Linked DNA regions of Homo sapiens: region 2 is linked to region 1. Evidence: promoter capture Hi-C in 16 types of primary human blood cells and fetal thymus (Javierre and others, 2016). All regions are on one chromosome and are shown on one strand. The core of a region is centred on a gene start or on the middle of the fragment in contact, and the rest is flanking DNA. Distances in the headings are between cores, read along the strand shown. Region 1 holds the start of STX3 (syntaxin 3). Region 2 overlaps OOSP1 (oocyte secreted protein 1).

Evidence for each region. Contacts are between HindIII fragments. The CHiCAGO score rates a contact against its expected background, and 5 or more counts as called.
Region 2: a contact is called between a fragment that was not itself captured here and the fragment with the promoter of STX3 in region 1, in 1 of 17 cell types (neutrophils). The highest score is 5.3, in neutrophils.

Annotation. Positions count from the first base shown.
Region 1 is chr11:59,751,989-59,758,420 of GRCh38, reverse strand. STX3 (syntaxin 3) reads right to left here and starts at 3,045. Exons shown (of 11, transcript NM_004177.5): 1 at 2,786-3,045. The coding sequence starts at 2,815. RefSeq lists a silencer at 2,845-3,104 and enhancers at 3,975-4,134, 4,071-4,365, 4,131-4,425, 4,115-4,615. The HindIII fragment of the contact is 11,536 bases long and covers 167-6,432 here.
Region 2 is chr11:59,938,480-59,944,911 of GRCh38, reverse strand. It overlaps OOSP1 (oocyte secreted protein 1), which reads right to left. Exons shown (of 5, transcript NM_001395276.1): 1 at 6,382-6,432; 2 at 1,884-2,065. Among named protein-coding and RNA genes, the nearest start is that of OOSP1, 3.3 kb to the right of the region's middle. The HindIII fragment of the contact is 5,072 bases long and covers 1-4,910 here.

The sequences.
Region 1 (6,432 bases), core at 1,796-4,295:
CTTGAGGCCTCAGTCCCTGTAGACTTCAAAGCCTCAGGACAGGCTCACAATTAAGCATTTTATAAAACCACACATTCTTAAGGTTGGTGAAGGCCTTATATCTCCTAGTTCACCTCCCCTCCAAGAGATGCTCAAATTCCTACAACATTCAAAATCCCAACAAGCTTCTTGCTTCCTTCCCATGCTGGAGGGTGCACCATCTACTCCATCCTTGGGCAGCTCTGTCTACTAAAAACGCTTTCTTACAGATTCCTCATTTCTACCCATCAACCCCACATGTTCTCTTTGTATCTACCCAGAACAAAGTCAATCACAGGCACGGAAAGCCCTCCAGTTATCGGGAGGCAGTTACCACCTCCCCTCCCCAGGATTTAGAAAGAACACCACAGAAAGAGATTGCATAGGCTGCTCAATGTGCAATTTGTTTCATGCAGGTTAACAAACGCTTCTAATTGATAACGGAAATCAGAGGGAGAAGACGCATATCTTGTTTCAGTGAGGGTGATCCCTGGGAGTCTGGCTGGGGAGAGGGGATAAGAGGAGGTGAACTGACACCAAAATCCACATAAACCTTAACAGTCTTCAAAGAAAAACCTATAATAACGCCAGAGGGGGCTTCTGAGATCAACTCAATTCTTTGTTGTATAAAGGAGGAATTGAGAAGCAGAGAAGTGACGCAAAGAAGCACAGTGATCAGTCTTGGAACCTGCCACCTGTGTCCCTTTGTCCCACGCTGCCATGCATCTGCTCCAAGACGCTACAGAAGCCACCCTGTGATTTCAGAACAATCCTCCCATAATACCACCACCATCTCCAGTCTCACTTTCACCACATCCCCAAGAGGGAAGGGGAGGAAACCTATCATTAATTCCATTGTACAGAGGGTAACCATGAGGCACCGAGGAGAGGCAAAGAGACTTGCTCAGCGTCCCCAGGCAAATTAAATTTATTCTTGGAACTCAAAGCTCAGTTAAGACTCTTTGCTCATTGTTGACAATGAGCTACTGAAAGGGGCCATGGAGTATCTTCCTCTGGAAGTGGATTTCCTAATAAATGGAAGAGCCTGCTGTTCAGTTTTGTACTTTTTTATGGTTGCTGGGTGTGCCGACACAGAGAGATCTTCAAAATCGTGCTCTTCTTTTCCTTCTGCCTCCCCAACCAGCGTGCTTCAAGGGAAGGAGCACTGTGGAGAGTGTCAAGAGCCTGGGTTCCTCTCCTGGTGGTGCCCTGGCCGGCTCTGTGTCCTGGAGCATCCCTCCTACCCCGTGAGCAGCAGTTTCCCCATCTATAAAAACAGGGGCAATAAATTCTGCCCCATCAGTAACCTGGACGCTGTGAGGCTGAGATGACTAAGCACAAGCCTGAGGCAGAGAGGCCACTCCCACAATAGGCAACTGTCCCTTTGCTTCTCTCACTTCCCCAGCTACCTGCCTCCTCCGCAGCCCTGCTACACAGAACAGGTGAAACAGGAATGAAGGTCTCATCCAAGCAAGGGAGAAAAAGGATAAACTCTTGTAACATCATCCCAGCAGTCCCTGACATCTGCATTTTCCCAAGAGCACTCACAGTTATTAGCATATTTCACCATTTATTAAGTCCCCCGTGCCATGCACCCTAAAAGTGTTCTTAAGCATCTTCTGTTGCATTTCGACCTTACAACTACCCATTTTACAAATGACAAAACTTAGGCTGGGATTTTAAGGGATCACCAGTAAGCAGTGGAGCCAGGAGACAACCCCAGTTCTAATCCAGTCCAGTGCTTCCCAAACTGTAATGTGCCCATGAATCACCTGGGGAAATGGATGAATAATTAGATTCTGATTCTGCGGGGCTAGACTCAGGCCTAAGCTGCTACACTTGTAACAAGCTCCAAAGTAGATGGACTAAACTCTTGAGTGTCAAGGGCTAGATTTTAATTCTATTAAGGTAGAACCTGTGCCACTGAATCTCCAAGGCTTAGCACTGGACCTCCCCATAGAATACACTCAATAATTATGTACTGAATGAGTCAATGAATATCTGGCTTAAAACCCTATGCGTTAACCCTTTTCTGTATCAAGTTCCATTGTATCAGCTGATCCTCCCAACAAATTCCTAGGGTATGATCATTCCCATTTGATAGATAAGGAAACAGAGACTCACAGTAAGTAACCTAAGGCTTTACAGCTTTTGCGCAGCCAAGGCTGGAGGTAGTCTACCTTCAGATCCTTTGACCTAACCACAGCTGTTCCAAAAGATACGGCGGGGGAGGGGGGGACAATGACACCCGGGGATAACAATTACAGACCACCGGTTGGAGAGGAGCTGACCCATCCCAGCATGTGACCGGCTCACAGCTCCAGAGGTCACCAGAGAGCTCTGAGCTGCTCCCTGGGGGAAGGGGCAGCCAGGCCTGTAGCACCTCAGGAGAGAAACAGGAAAGGGAGAAGGAGGCTGGTCCTGGGCATAGTGCCAGGCAGCAGTGGGCAGGTGGTGAAGGGACCCCTGACCTCCCGGGCCCAAGCACCCGCTTCGGGAACCAGCTCTGGACAGACACTGTCCAGCTTGCGGGGTGGGAGAGTTAGAGGCGTTCAGGAAAATCATTGCCTAGCGATGAATCACCGGGCACATGACCCCGCAGGGGAGGGGAGGGGAGGGTGCGGAACCGGCGCGGGAAGCGGTGGGGGCTTGGGGAGGGCAAGCCTCCGGCTCGGGCCCCCCTCCAGCCTCGACTTGGGGAGCAAAGGGAAGCCCCTCTCCCATGCAGCACCCCTCCTGGCAGCACCCCGCCTGCGGCGAAACTCACGGCCTTCAGCTGCTCCAGACGGTCCTTCATCCTGAAGCCCAGGCGCCCGGAGGCAGGTAGCGCGTCCCAGGTGAGCGCGTCCCAGGTGAGCGCTTCCCAGGTGAGCTGCCGGAAGCGGCGGCCGGGCCCGCCGGGGCGAAGGAGCTGGAGGCGCAGGCGGCGGCGGGCGGCGGCCGCTAGCTAGGAGGAGCGTCCGAGGCCACGGGAGCCTCCGCCGCGCAGCCCCCTCCGCCCCCACCGGCGCCTCGCGCTCCAAATCCGGCTCCCGGGCCGGCGCCGGCGCAGCGCTGATCCGCCCTGGACCCGCCCCTACCTGGCCGCGCCCCTCGCTCCTTCTTAAAGGGCCCGCGTCCCGCCACCGCCCGGCCGCCCGGGGCGTCTCCAAAGCCCCCTTCCCTAACCCGAGAGCCCTCCAGACACGCGTGGAGTCCGGGGAGAGGCCCCTGCACCGGCGGATCCTGCCGCAGGGCCGAGGAAGAGCAAGAGCGACTGTCTGGCTGCGGTCATTCGCTGTCTGTGCCGGGCTCCTCGCTAGGATCCAGTTCTTAGCCGACTCCTTGCTAGGCGGGGACAAGCTCCCGAAAACAAATAAGACAATGTGATGTGGGCTACATTGGGTGGCAGTCGAGTGTTCTAAAAATATCCCGCCAGGAGGAAGGCATTCCGAGTAGCGGGATCCCGCGCAGCCTCAGGGCTGCTGGCAGTGAAAGTGGGGGGATGGAGGAGGTGTCCAGAGGAAAGACCTGGAGATCTGGAGATACAGGACGGTCAGGGTGGTCAGAGAATTTGGATCTTTTGCTTGTTGGAAATCGGGACCGCTCCGAGAAACGTAAGCAGCTCGATGTTGTTAGTGCCAGTGGAGACACTTGGCACTCACAATTTGCAGACGTTTGGGAAAGCATCGTTTCTCAAGAGGACCCCGTTCCCGTGTCTGTAAATCAGAGATGGTACCCACTTCGTAGTTCGCTGTGAAGCCTGTGAGCGAGGAGGGGCTTTAAAATACAGAACTTTGCACTGGAGCGCTCCCCGTCCTCGCAGCCTGCTTGGTGTGCAGGTGGTTCCCAGGCGGCTTCTGCTTCCGAAAAGCAGATCGTCCCTTTATCTCGAGTCTTCTCCCCGCCTCTCCCTCTTCTCCCTACCCTATTTGTCTTCTTGGGAACAAATGGCACATTCATCAGAGTGGAGATCCATAAACGGGACTGGCGAGCCGAAGATTTAATTCTGAAGAATAGGATCTGCTCTGTGCTTTCAGGTTAAAAAGCTGTAAATATCTTTGTAATTCTAGCAGTACTTTGCCCTCTTCTGCCATCTGAACGCGTGCTCCCTGCTGACCTCATCGGCTCCCATAAAGATACGGTGCGTATGGCAGAGGTCGGGCTTTGAGCCGGCCCCGCGGGTCTCGGCCGTAGTTCTCTCTCGCGTCCGGCACACTTCCTTCTGCCCGCTGTGCTCGCTGGGCAGGTTGTCCCCGCCTTAGTACCAGGAGGGCTTCCGCGCCCCCTGGTGGTCATACTAGGAAAGGCGAGTAGATCAGAAATACACACTGTCCCACCTCCTTCCCCTAACACATTTTTGGGGAGTTTGGGGGTTGTTTGTTTGTTTGTTTGTTTGTTTGTTTGTTTTTTAGACAGAGTCTCATTCTGTTGCGCAAGTTGAGTGCAGTGGCGCGATCACCGCTCTCTGCAGCCTCGATCCCCTGGGCCCAACCCATCCTCCCATCTCAGCCTCCCAAGTAGCTGGGATTACAGGCGTGCGCCACTACGCCCGGCTAATTTTTGTGTTTTTTTCGTAGAGATAGGGTTTCGCCATGTTGCCCAGGCTGGTCTGGAACTCCTGTATTCAAGCCATCCGCCCGCCTCGGCCTCTCGAAGGGCTGGGATTACAGGCGTGCGCCACTGCGCCCTGCCCCTTAACAGATTTTTGTTAGTGGGAATACGTAGTTCCCCGCGCTTCAAGAAAATAGAGTCTTCCGCGAGAGGCCGAGATATGAACAACCCTTCACGTTAGGAATCTGAAAAGGACCATTGGGGTCTGGAGTAAAAAATTCTCTTTCCACAGCAGGAATCAAGGGTGGCCTGTCTGCCTCTGCTCAGAGGGTTCCTGTTACAGGATAATTGTTTTGAAAAGAGTAAAATCATGACTCCTCTACAAATATAAAATGCACACACATCAAAGACTTTAATTCATTAATGAATGAGGAGACCAGTAAAGCTAGCCCTGTCCAGAGGAAAACACAAAGTGTACACACATATATAGGCAATCAGGAATGCTGAAACGAACATGTTAATAAATGCACAACTGGCCGGGTGCAGTGGCTCATGCCTGTAATCCCAGCACTGTGGGAGGCTGAGGCGGGCAGATCACTTGAAGTTAGGAGTTCAAGACCAGCCTGGCCAACATCTTGAAACCTCATCTCTACTAAAAATACAAAAAATTAGCCGGGCGTGATAGTGCACGCCTACAAATCCCAGCTACTCGGGAGGCTGCGGCAGAAGAATCTCTGGAACCTGGGAAGCAGAGGTTGCAGTGAACTGAGATCACACCACTGCACTCCAGCCTGGACCACAGAGCAAAACTCTGTCTTAAAAATTATATTTTTAATAAAAATAAATAATAAATGCAGAACTGGCCTCGGGGTGCTGGGAGAGCAATTGCACTTCTACCAGGCATCTCTATGGACAAGAATCATTGGCATTCCTATGAATTTTCTACAACTTACCAAGTTGGAAAATAGCTGCAAGATTTTATAAGGCAAAAATCACTAAAAAATCAGGTAATCCAGAAAGGTGCTTTAGATAAGGCCTAGCATGCCACAGGACACCCAATAATTTTTGGAGTTTTTGCCATTTTAACTTTTTTAGTTTTTCCAGACATTCCCAAGGTGGCACCTTCCATAGTTGTACAGTTTCAACTGTGTTAAAATTTCTTTGTCGGGGACTGTTGTGGGGTGGGGGAACGGGGAGGGATAGCATTAGGAGATATACCTAATGCTAAGTGACGAGTTAATGGGTGCAGCACACCAACATGGCACATGTATACATATGTAACAAACCTGCACGTTATGTACATGTACGCTAAAACTTAAAGTATAATAATAATAAGAATTCTTTGTCAGCTTGGGCAACAGAGTGACACCCCATTTCTACAAAACATACATAAATCGAGCCAGGTGCAGTGACTCACGCCTGTAGTCCTAGCACTTTGGGAGGCTGAGGCAGGTGGATCATGAGGTCAGGAGATCGAGACCATCCTGGCCAACATGGTGAAATCCCGTCTCTACTAAAAATACAAAAATTAGCTGGGCGTGGTGGTGTGTGCTTGTAATCCCAGCTACTTGGGAGGCTGAGGCAGGAGAATTGCTTGAACCCAGGGGGTGGAGGCTGCAGTGAGAATTGCTTGAACCCGGGAGGCAGAGGTTGCAATGAGGCGAGATTGCGCCACTGCACTCCAGCCTGGTGACAGAGCGAGACTCCGTCTCAAAAAAAAAAAAAAAATTAGCCAGGTATAGTGGTGCTCACATGCAGTCCCCAGCTACTCAGTAGGCTGCGGTGCAGGATTGCTTGAGCCCAGAATTTTGAGGCTGCAGTGAACTATGATCACGGCACTGCACTCCAGGCTGGGTGACAGAGAGAGACATGTCTCAAAAA
Region 2 (6,432 bases), core at 1,125-3,624, 190 kb before region 1:
CATTCAAGAAAGCAATTGACACCTCTTTTTGAGACACACAGTTGTAGTGATACATTGCTTATTCAAAGCGAGCATGGGCTTTGAGATCATATGAATCACATTTGGAATCTTGGAGCTGCCTCTATTCATCATGAATCCTTGGAAACCGTGTTTAAACAATTAAGTCTGTTTTCTTATTTCTAAAAAAAGCAATAATTATGGTGGTAAAGAATAATAGTGATTAAGTTATCAGCATATAGTAAATACCTAACAGGAAGTATAGCTGTTTTCAGGGGGGTGGGGTGGAATGGAGTTAAGACAATTAATAGTAAAATATTTTTCTAAGAACATTTAGCATATGGTTCTCAATATAAGGCCCAATCTTTGACAGCATAGGAGGATATGATGATTCAGAGATACCCATATTCATTACATAATTTTAAATGTTCCCGTCTCAGATATATCCTGCTCTCATTGGATAATTTGAAAATATAAGCATAGATAAAATGAAATTAACATACTACCACCACCCAGATTATTCAGTTAACATTTGAATATTCCCTGCCCCCCCCCCGCAGTTTATATCAAGGTTGATAGTGCCCCCCTAATACCTGCTGTGGTGTATTAGACCTGTAATGTGCTTCCCAGATCCCCTAAGGGCTTGTTGACCCAGCTGCTAGGAATGCTGTTACCAGATAGCCTTCAGCCTTCAGCTCTCACCCCCTCCAGGAATTATGTAGCTGCTGAGGGCTGTCTTACCCCTGGCCACACCCCTCTCCCAGGGTGGCCCACTTCTGATCACCTACCCAGCAGGAATGTGAAGCCCTGTGCAGGGTCAGCCAAAGCTGTCTCTAAGCCTGCATCACAGCTCAGCTTTGCCCTTTGCCCAATCTTCTTTCTCCCAAAAACACTTCTTAATAAATATTCCGCACACTCAACTCTACCTCAAATTTTGCTTTTGCTTTCTGTGTTACCCAATCTGTGGAATTTATCTAAACCTGATCAAGTTCTATTACTTCTTTTAGCGTTTTATTTGGGATAATGAAAAAAATAAGTAATATCATAGCAAGATTTTACTAACTTTAAAAACTTTTTAAATTAAGTCAAAATTCCAGTTATACTTTTATCAGTGATATGCACAATGACTTAGTTAACCCAAAATATCTGGTGAGTAGGGGCTAGGGCTGGGAGATCACTGAATATTTACTTTGAAAAGGCTTCTGATGCTTGATTAGTGTTACTCCCTCATTCTGGTCGCAATTGACCAAACTTCATGAATTATAATAAATAATTAGTTAGAGAAACTGTTGAAAAACTTTCTGATGCATGGAAAATACTTTCTTCCTTCAAAACCTTCAACTCTCCCGCCTGCTCCATCACTAAATGAATAATTAGTGTTTGCAATTACCACCTAACAAGAGAAAAGCATTTAGCATCTCCTTTCTTAACTGCTTCTGTCCTAAATGTGATCATTAAAGAGTCTAGCCATATTACAAATAGACACTTAATGACTTCTAGTTTGTAGGTATGTTGAAGGAACCATAAGACACTTGGGTTTTTTTGTTGGTTTTTTTTTTATACTTTAAGTTTTAGGGTACGTGTGCACAACGTGCAGGTTTGTTACATATGTATACATGTGCCATGTTGGTGTGCTGCACCCATTAACTCGTCATTTAACATTAGTTATATCTCCTAATGCTATCCCTCTCCCCTCCCCCCACCCCACAACAGGCCCCATGAAGCTAGAAACCATCATTCTTAGCAAACTATCGCAAGGACAAAAAACCAAACACCACATGTTCTCACTCATAGGTGGGAATTGAGCAATGAGAACACATGGACACAGGAAGGGGAACATCACACACCTGGACACTTGGGTTTTAAGTAAGATAGCCATTTCTTACTTGAGTTACAATACCACAGTCATGAGGATGGTAGAAAAACTCATAGTAGACATTTGGCAAAACATGGGTTACATGGCAGCCATCTCCTAGAAACACTTCATCGGGGTTCACATACAAATTGTAAAATATCGTGGGTTTAATCCTGGCAAAGAACCAAAACTGGGTGCAGTGTACTTGAATAGCTGAAAAGCAGGAAAAAGAAATTTTGTTAGTATGCAATTACATAGATCAGCTCAAAAAAATTTAGCATACCCTGTTAATACAAATGAAGAGATCATCCCTTACTAAAACAAAATGTCTTAAGAGGTGAACAAGTTTGCAAAACATGGTCTCTGAATTATTACTTCATCCCCTAAAAATATCCACACATATACTCATTCTTCAAATACATTCTTTAGTGAATCTATATATAGGGGGGAAAAAATCAATACAAAATAAGATTTCATCTAACCCTCCAAAGTCACTTATTGTAGAGCTAGAATCACAAGACTATATCTATATTATAATGTTTATACTAAGTATAGAGCATTTTCTGTCTCCCTTGTTCAACTGAAGCTCTTTGACGCAAGCCCTTCCATTTCTATGGAAGCAAGCAGTTTCCATTTTTATACCCACAGTTTCATGATATATAAAGACTTGTCCACAAAACTCAAGCTAGCAAGCAGGCTTTTATAGAAATTGAGTAAAAACAGTGCTATCCTTTCCCTTCTATCTTGAAATATCTGGACATTAAGTTTTTTTACTCTGGAAATGGAAATAATTTTCTGATACAATCTGCTGCTTGAATTAGGTCCCAGGGAAAGAGAATTAGATCAAACTAGAAATTATGAGACTGGGTAGGCATGAGTTTTTTTGTTTTTGATTTTTTAAGAGTAAGTTTGGCTATTCTTCTAGACTTCACTAAAGGAAAATTTTATCAGTTGCTCTTAAGATACTAGAAGGAGCCTGAGTTCTCAGGAGATACTGAAAACTCAGCGGAGAAACCAAAGGAATATAAATCTGCAATCCTTTCACAGAAGGGGCTATACATATTGCAAATAACTATATGAAAAGATGTTTAATATCATCAGCCATTATGGAAATCCAAATTCAAATCACGATATTACTACACACCTATCACAATGGCTAAGATGAATAATAGTGAAGACACCAAACGCTGGTGAGGATGCCGAGAAACTGGGTCACTCATACATTGCTGGGACAATGTGAAATGTATCAACCACACTAGAAAACAGTTTGTCAATTTCTTTAAAAACTAAACATACAACAACCATATGACTCAACAATTAAACTCTTCGGCATTTATCCCAGGGAAATAAAAATGTATGTTCACATAAAATGTACATAAATGGGCTGGGCGAGGTGGCTCACTCCTGTAATCCCAGCACTTTAGGAGGGCGAGCCGGGTGGATCACGAGGTCAGGAGTTCAAGACCAGTCTGATCAACATGGTAAAACCCCATCTCTACAAAAAATACAAAAATTAGCCAGGCATGGTGGCACGTGCCTGTAATCCCAGCTACTCAGGAGGCTGAGGCAGGAGAATCATGTGAACCTGGGAGGCAGAGGTTGCAGTGAGCCGAGATGGTGCCACTGCACTCCAGCCTGGGCGACAAAGCTAGACTCTGTCTCAAAAAAAAAAAAAGTACATAAATGCTAACAATAGCTTCATTTATAATAGTCAAAAACTGAAGACAGCCCAGATGTCTTTTGGTGGGTGAATGGTTAAACAAACCATGGTACAATCATGCCATGGAATTCCACTCAGCAATAAAAAGAATCAAGTGTTGATACACGCAACATCTTGGATGAATCTTCAAGGAATTACACTGAGTGAAAAAAAACGCCAATTCCAAAAGGTTACAAACTCTGAGCCCATTTATATAACACCCTTGAAATGACAAAATTGTAGAAATGGAGAACAGATCTGTGCTTGACAAAAATTAAGGAAAACGGAGACAGAAGGTTTGGCATTAGTGGTTCAGGAGGAAAGTAGAAGTGGCTCTAAAAGTGGCATCCTGATTACAATAGAAATGTCTGTCCTTTGGCTACATCAATATTAATATCCCAATGTAATACTGTATTATATTTCTGCAAGATGTTACCATTGTGTGAAGCTGAATAAATAGTATAATTGATCTCTGTATTATTTCTTACACTGCATGTGAATCTACAATTACCTAAAAATAAGACGTTCCTTAAATGTAAAACCAGTTATTCATATCCACATTAGCAAAAAGTAAGACATCTGTGAGCACCAATTAGAATTAAAGAACAATTGAGCAAGAGAGTTACTTTTCAGATCTGTACCTGTGGCCTCACAGTCCCATTCCTAGATATGCACACACAAAAAGAAACCACTCAAATACAAACATTATTTGTAACGGCCCCACACTAGAAAAATTCTATCAATGTGAGAACAGAAACAATTTGCAATGCATTTATTCACTGGACTGCTAAATAGTAATTAAAATATACCAAAGCTACAAATGTAAATCTCCAAGTGATGGACAACAAAAAAGCTGTAGAATTAAATAGAAATAGAAGATAAATGCCTGCGAAACATATTTACAGATCCACAAATTTGACGTAAAATTGTAAAACACACAGGAAAATGAATAATTACCAAACTCACATATGGGCAAAGAGGGAAGAGAATAGGATCAGGAATGACCACAGGGACTTCAACTCTACCTGAACTTTTACTTCTATTAGAAAATAAAATGTAAGCAAATGTAGCAAATTATGGATTTAATAAAGCTGAAGAGCAGGTCAGTGAATATTGATATTATTCCTTATAGTTACCTGCTTTTTTAAACTTAGTTATCCATTTTAAATAGTTCCTAATAAAAGAAAGCATAATGAATACACTAAGATTCTAACATGTACCCATGTCAGGTCTAGGTTGTCTTGTTGAACGGGTAGCTTGACAAGTATACACAACCTTTCACTGCAATTCCGAAATCTTAACCTTAGAAATTGACAGCCCAGGCAGGAAGCAGTGGCTCACGCCTTTAATCCTAAAGCTTTGGGAAGCCAAGGTGGGAGGATTCCTTGAGGTCAAGAGTTGGAGACTAGCCTGGGCAACATAGCAAGTCTCTACAAAAAATTTTTTTTTAATTAGCAGTTCACAGCTGCAGTGAGCTACGATGGCACCACTGCACTCCAGCCTGAGTGACAAAGAAAGAAAGAAAACAAAAGAAAGAGAAAGAAGAGAAAGAGAAGAGAAAGAGAAAAAGAAAAGAAAGAGAAAGATGAGAAAGAGAAGGGGAAAGAAGAGAAAAAGAAAAAAGAGAAAAAGAAGAGAAAGAGAAAGAGGAAGGGAAGAGCAAGGGACGAGGAAGAGGGAACAGGAAGAGAAGAGGAAGAGAAAGAAGAGGAAGAGAAAGGGAAGAGTAATAGAAAGGGAAGAGGAAGAGAAAGGGAAGAAAAAAAAGAAAAAGAGAGAAGGAGAGAAAGAAAAGAAAACAGAAAAAAGCATTCAGCACAGTGGCTCATACCTGTTATACCAGCACTTTGGGAGACCGAGGTGGGCAGATCACTTGAGGCCAGGAGTTTGAGACCAGCCTGGCCAATATGGTAAAACCCCGTCTCTACTAAAAATACAAAAATTAGCTGGATGTGGTGGTGCACATCTGCAGTGCCAGCTACTTGGGAGGCTGAGGCACAAGAATCACATGAACCCGGGAGGCAGAGGCTGTAGTGAGCCCAGATCATACCACTGCACTCCAGCCTCGGTGACAGCGAGACTCTTGTCCCAAAAAAAAAAGAAAGGAAGAAAAGAAGGAAAGGAGGAAGGAAGGGAAAGAAAAGAAAGAGGGAGGGAGGAGGGAACGAGGGAGAAAGAGAAAGAAAGGAAGAAAGAAGGGAGGAGAGAAAGAAAGGAAAAGAGAAAGAGAAGCAGAAATAGAGGAAGAGAAACTGACAGCCCAAGTTTATACTCAGGGCTACCAATCATTCTGGTTTGCTCCGAACAGGAGGTTTTTGGGGCCGACGCAGGAAAAGTACTGGGAAAACCTGGACCACTGCTCACCTCACTTAGGGGGCACTGACTGCTCCCTCTGAAATGAAAAGGATCTATGAAGTATAAGGTAAAGAAAGGCTAAGCCTTATAAGGCTTTCTTCCTGTATGTGACACACCACAGAGTCCCAAGTTCCTACCACCACCCACTCCTCTGTTTTCCAGGCCACTCCACACTCTTTATATTAAACCCACTTCAAGTACTTGATCCCCAAGAATTGATATGGTCAGAATAAGATCAAAAGGAAAGGGGAGTTGGAGAAAGACAGTCTCAGGTTAGGGCACATTCCCTAGTCTCAGTGCCGGTATGCAAGAGAAAAACATGGTATCTCAAGATTGCACATCGAAAAGAGGCACCACCCCTCCATGTGTCCTTGGCTATTATTAAGATTCAACCAGACCACAACTGTAAAGAATCCAAAGCCACATCTTTCAGCTCTCTTTAAGAAACTTCTATTCCCCAAGTGATAAGTTATACCTGACCAGTCCCCAGCGCAGGTCCATATCAAGGAATGCAGATAAAAGAGCC